Linked DNA regions of Homo sapiens: region 2 is linked to region 1. The links are contacts of gene promoters, found by promoter capture Hi-C in human tissues and cell types (Jung and others, 2019). All regions are on one chromosome and are shown on one strand. The core of a region is centred on a gene start or on the middle of the fragment in contact, and the rest is flanking DNA. Distances in the headings are between cores, read along the strand shown. Region 1 holds the start of PRKACA (protein kinase cAMP-activated catalytic subunit alpha). Region 2 holds the start of TPM4 (tropomyosin 4).

Region 1 (2,804 bases), core at 97-2,596:
GTGGTTGATCTGGGAACATGGGGGCAGACAGCAGCTGGAGAAGGTGGAGGCTATTCAAGTCGAAGCAGCAGATCGGCTTGTAGTTAAGCCCAGCTAGCCCTTCCGAGTCGGGGTGACCTGGCTTCTCCCCTCCCCTGACCCTCTCTTAAGTGCTTCTCAATCAGGAGCAGTTCGGCCCCGCAAGAGCACATTCACCAATGTCAGGAGACAGCGGTTGCCACAGCCAGCAGGAAGATAGAGGAGGGGCTACTGGCATCCAGTGGGTAGAGGCGGGGGATGTTGCTCAACACCCAGTGGTGCACAAGACACCCCCCAGCAGAAAATGATCCAGCCTCACCGTCAGTAGTGTCGCAGTTGGGAAACCCCGACTGTCCTCTGCTAAGTGTGTACTGAAAGAGGATCCTGAAGGAAGGGGCAGGTTCCCTTCGCATTGCCCAGACAGGAAATACAGACGGGGAACAGGAGCAGGGAATCTGCCTGGCTGTACCCCAGATTCCTCATCTGTGCAATGGGAGTGATGATGGTAGCACCTACGCGATGGGAGTGTGGTGCGAAGGAGCGTTAAGTGGGTGCCAGCTCTTACTACTGGCAGGAGCCCAGGGCTAGGGCCCAGCAAAGGGGTGGACACTGAGCGCCCCTTCCCAGCCACCCCTTGCGCCGGGCCCGGCATCCTCCTGAGTGCGGCTGGGAAAACCCAGGAGGCCCCGCGGCCTGGCCCCCAAGCAGGCCTGGCCTCGGCCGCCCAGCGCCAGGCCTTATGAATGACGCCGGCGGCGGCCGGGCGACCTCTGACCCGCGCGCCGGCCGCGCCCCTCCCCCGCTGGCAGGTGGACAGCGGCTGCGCCGGGCAGGCCGCGGCGCCAACTCCGGCTGGCCGACAGCCGCTGCCGCACTGAGCGGGGGCGGGGGACTGCGGCGCGCGCGGGGCCGGCCGGGCGCCCGCCGGGGCCGCCTCCTGAGCCTCGGAGCGCTGCGCGGCCGCCAGCCAGCCTCCGCCGCCCCGCCCCGCCGGCCCGGGCCCGCAGACTGCGTCTCCGCCCCGCCCTCTCACCCCCGGATTGACACTGAGCGTTCTGCTGGGGGGCTTGGCGGACCCGGCACCTCCGCCAATCGGCGGCCTCGCAGGGCGGACCCCGGGCCCAGTCCAGCGTCTCGGCCAATCGGACGCGTCTGCCCGCCCAGCTGCGGCCTCGCGAGCGAGTGAATGGCCGAGAGTCCGCGGTGCGTGTCCCGAGGCTGAGAGCCTATAGTGGCGCGGGAAGGTCGCGGGAGGGCCAATGGGAGGCGGCGCTGAGCCGTCAGTCAGGGCGGCCTAGGCCAATGAGCGGCGGGCTGCGGGGGCGTCACAGACAGCGGCAGAGATCTTGGGCTGAGGTTCCCGGGCGGGCGGGCGCGGAGAGACGCGGGAAGCAGGGGCTGGGCGGGGGTCGCGGCGCCGCAGCTAGCGCAGCCAGCCCGAGGGCCGCCGCCGCCGCCGCCCAGCGCGCTCCGGGGCCGCCGGCCGCAGCCAGCACCCGCCGCGCCGCAGCTCCGGGACCGGCCCCGGCCGCCGCCGCCGCGATGGGCAACGCCGCCGCCGCCAAGAAGGGCAGCGAGCAGGAGAGCGGTGAGTGCCCGGGCTGTGACCCCGATCTTGGCCCTGCGCTGCCAGCCCTGGCCTTGTCCATCATCGCCTGGCCCCTCCCCCTACGGGGCCCCTCATCCTCTCTGCCTACCCCCCAGCGCCCCTTGCCCCGGCCTGTCCAAGGCTGGGGCCCGCGGGCCCGCAGAGTACCCCCTGTAGGGGTCCCCTTCCCCTAGGGCCGCCCCATGCTGCAAAGACCGTGCTCCCCCCCAGCTGTCACTGCCAACCATGGCACGTATGACCGCTGGGGCCCCACATGGGCCCCTGTCACCAGCCTACCCCCTCCTTTCCTGGCCCCTCTTCCCAGATTCTAATCCCCCCACTTCCTCACTCACCTCTCTCACCTATGGGATCCTCTGCCTGACCCCGACCCAGGTTTCTACCAGTTTGGGAATGCGATGAGGTCTGTCTGCCTCCACCGCGCAGGGACCTTGGCCACTTGCTGACCACACCCCTCCCCCCTCCAGCCCCCGCCATCTTTCTCCTGCCCTTTCCCTCTTCACCTTAGCACAGCCCCCCCTTCCAAACCCATCCTGCCCCCTGAACATTTCCCAGAGCCACCTCCAGCATTATTTTTTTCTTCTGTGTCACTTGGCATGGGGGACAGGATCTTTCTGGGTCCCTCTGCCTCTCTCATCCTGTCACTCTGTCATTCTGCTGCTCTGCTTGTGCTCCGTCCTCCAAGCAAGCGTCTGTCCCTGGCTGGGGTAGCAGACTGTTTATGAACGTAGAGAATTGCTTCAGTGCTTCCAAAGCCAAGTTTGAGCTGGTCTTGTTGGGATTCATTGCATCCTCTTTCCTGCGTTGGGGTAAGGGGGTGGTGGCAGAGCCCCCTCTCATTTCCTGTCTTGCAGTGAGCTCTAGGCTCCATGGAGGGCCCCTCAATAAATGGTCGTTTCACAACTGAGGCTCCGTCATTCACCCAGTCCCTGGGGCTTCTTCCACCACTCCTGGCTTGGGATGAAAAGTGTCTGGGTTTAGCGAGGTTCATTCGGTTCTAACTGAGATGGTCAGAAAGAGCACTGGGGAGGAGGAGGCAGTCAAAGAGAGTAATGGGTGACGTCTAGTGATTTGCTTTGACGTCTAGTGATTCTGATCATTCCCAGGGCTCAGCCAGAGAGAGACCTGTTTCACCCACTTGCCCACACATTAGGTTGGTCTTTTCCAGCCAGCCAGAGAA
Region 2 (2,863 bases), core at 277-2,776, 2.0 Mb before region 1:
TGGGCAGATCACGAGGTCAGGAGTTCGAGACCAGCCTGGCCAGCATGGTGAGACACTGTCTCTACTAAAAATCCAAAATAAAAAAAAAAAAATTAGCTGGGCGTGGTGGCGGGCACCTGTAATCCCAGCTACTCGGGAGGCTGAAGCAGGAGAATCTCTTGAACTCGGGGGGTGGAGGTTGCAGCGAGCCGAGATCGCACCACTGCACTCCAGCCTGGGCGACAGAGTGAGACTGCCTCAAAAACAAAACAACAAAAAACAACAACACAATTGATTATTTACAAAGCGCCAGGCTCCACGCCTGAGATTTACTCCTGGGACCCTCCCTGCTACTCTGGGGGGTCGGGATTCTTATCAGTCCTACTCGCAGATGGGAAAAAAGCTCCTAGAGAGCAAATACCAAGTCATGAAGCCTGTGGGTGGCATGATATGGGACCAGAATCCAAATCTGTCCCCAGACCCTGGCGGTGCCACCATCTGTCCCGAGGGACAGCCAGGAGGATGATGCAGAGAGGATGGTGAAACTCCCTCCTTTTTCAGACCCATTGTTTATCTCGGGCCCTGCGACTCGCGGCGGAGGCGCACAGCAGGCGCTCAAACGATCGTGGGTTCAGGGCCCCGCGCCAGCGTTCCCGGGGCCTTCTGGAGAGAGGCAGGGTCCCGCCGCCCCGGTTCCCGCAGGAATCAGCTGGAGAAAGGCGGGCGGCTTGGGGCTGAACTTCCTCCACCCCCCATCCCCCCCGCCGCCTGGAGCAGACACGTCGCCGCCGCGCCCCTGGGAACGGTCAGGGAAGCAAGCAGAAGCCGGGAAGCCGCGAAAGAGGCGAGAAAGTGCGACCCCCTCCCCAGATCCCCGGTCCCCCGTCGAAATCCCTGTCGGCCGGTCAAACCCTAGACAATGGAAGCTCCACGTTTTCATCCTCATTCTCCCCCACAAGTCCGGTCGCGGGTTCCCCTCGGCCCGGGACCCCGGCGCCAGCCCCGGAGTCGGAGCCTGCACGATACGCCCCCTCCCGCCGCTCCACTTCTCCACCCGGAGATCGCTCACCCCCTCCGCCCCATCCCCCCATTTCCCGCTTGGCCGGCCCCGCCCGACCCGGAGGCGGCGCCCCCTCCCCTGTCCCAGGCCCAGGAAGGAGGACGGCGGAGGAAGTAGGGGGTCCTGGCTGCGGGCGCAGGGATGTGGGTCGGCGATCGGCGTCCGAGGGCGTAAAAAGGCGGCCCGAGGACTGCGCGCGGGCGGGCAGCGCGGGAAGCCGGGAAGAAAGGAGGGCGCGCGGGGGAGGAGGCTGCGGGTGCGGGGCCCGAGGCCGGGGCGCTCACTTTCTCGCGCCGCTCGCGCTCGCCGTCCAGCTCCCGCTGCAGGCCCTGCGCGCGGTCTTCCGCCTCGTCCGCCTGCTGCTGCAGGGCCTGGATCTTGCGTTTCACCGCCTCCAGGGAGTTGAGGCCGGCCATGGCGCGGAGGCGCAGAGGCGCACGGGCAGCGGCGGACGCTCGGCTGGGCTCGGCTCCGGCGAGAGCTGCACAGCCGCGCCCCGGCCCCCCAAGCCTTTGCCTGCGCGGGGGCCGCCCCCGCCTCTCCCCGCCCCCCGGGCCGGCTGCCGTCGGGGCGATGAGGTCACCCGGCCGGACCGCCGACGTCAGCACCGCTGGGGGAGGGCCTGACGTCGGCACCGCTGGCCACAGCTGCTGGAAAGTGCCCCTTTTCGGGACTTATTTGGAGAAAGCGCTGGGAGGCGCCGCCTTCTCCTCCTCCTCTTCCTCCTCCCCCTGCGGCTCTCCCCGCCTTCCCGGCCCCGGGGCTCCGGCCTGGCCCCGCCGCGGGCTCCCGCATCCCTGCACACGTACGTCGGAGGCCTTCTTCTCCGTGAGCTCCAGCTTCTCCTGCGCGTCCTTCAGGTCCTCGGAATATTTATCCAGCTCGTCCTCTGTCCCTTTTAGTTTCTTCTGGAGGTGCGTCAGCTCCTCCTCCACCTGGGGACGACAGAGCGAGGAACGGGTCAGCCTGGGGGGGGGGTCACGTCCCCGAGGTGCAGGGGCGGTCCCCCCCAATATTCACAAGAGTCCTCCGTCTCTCTCTGGGCATCAGTTTCCTTATCTGTAGAACAGGGGTTGCGATAGCATGCACCACGCCATCCATGCTACCTGATAGTGGGATTTTCACATCTTTCCCTCGTCCTGAGGACCAGCTGTTTTGGGCTTATTGGGGTCCCCAGTACTCTAGGGAGATCAATGGCAGCTTTTGGGAAACTGAAGACTCCAAATGTTTTCCAGAAATACACACATTCCAGTTTCAGAGGTGCAGCCTCACCATGATCTGGAGTTAAGCAATCTCATTCTCTGCGCGTGGATCCCTCCGCCCATCCCTGTCCCCAGCCTTTCTCCCTCTGGTTCTGACCCCAACACGGGGTCAGAGAAACTTTCTAACAAATACGCCTGCCCTCTTTCTGCCTAGAACCTGCTATGGCTCCCTATGGCCCAAGGCAGTGGTTCTTAGACTGTCTTACCAAAATACTCTGAAGGGCTGAAGGGCTCAGACCTAGTCCCTCATTTCTGGGCTTTGGGGAGCTTGGCTAGAAGAGACTCGCCCCTACAGGATCACTTTCTTTGAAGGCTCGGGTTAAATCTTTAAAATTTTTGCATATAGGCCATGTTCATTTTAATAAAAATGTCCCCTACTTTCCCTAAATTTTCAGTCCTCTGTTTATCCCAAGAGTCCTATCCTCCCATCACTCCTAGTTTGAGAAGCTCAGGCCTATGGATTACAAACCACAGACCCCATCACCTCTCTTTGTCACCCCCCACCACACCGGTCTAGAGTTGGCTCAAGAAGACTTTTCTGTCACCTCCAGGCTGAAACTCC

Evidence for each region. Contacts are between HindIII fragments. The study calls those that stand out against the background at their distance.
Region 2: a contact is called between the fragment with the promoter of TPM4 here and the fragment with the promoter of PRKACA in region 1, in 1 of the 25 tissues and cell types used here (lymphoblastoid cells).

The regions. Positions count from the first base shown.
Region 1 is chr19:14,116,304-14,119,107 of GRCh38, reverse strand. It overlaps PRKACA (protein kinase cAMP-activated catalytic subunit alpha), which reads left to right and starts at 1,346. Exons shown (of 10, transcript NM_002730.4): 1 at 1,346-1,606. The coding sequence starts at 1,561. LOC124904642 (a long non-coding RNA gene) reads right to left here and starts at 894. Exons shown (of 2, transcript XR_007067144.1): 1 at 1-894. RefSeq lists silencers at 726-1,285, 1,696-1,765. The HindIII fragment of the contact is 9,947 bases long and covers 1-2,731 here.
Region 2 is chr19:16,075,158-16,078,020 of GRCh38, reverse strand. It overlaps TPM4 (tropomyosin 4), which reads right to left and starts at 1,526. Exons shown (of 8, transcript NM_003290.3): 1 at 1,324-1,526. The coding sequence starts at 1,455. RefSeq lists enhancers at 455-1,184, 1,185-1,912, 1,913-2,642 and a silencer at 967-1,876. The HindIII fragment of the contact is 17,695 bases long and covers 1-2,863 here.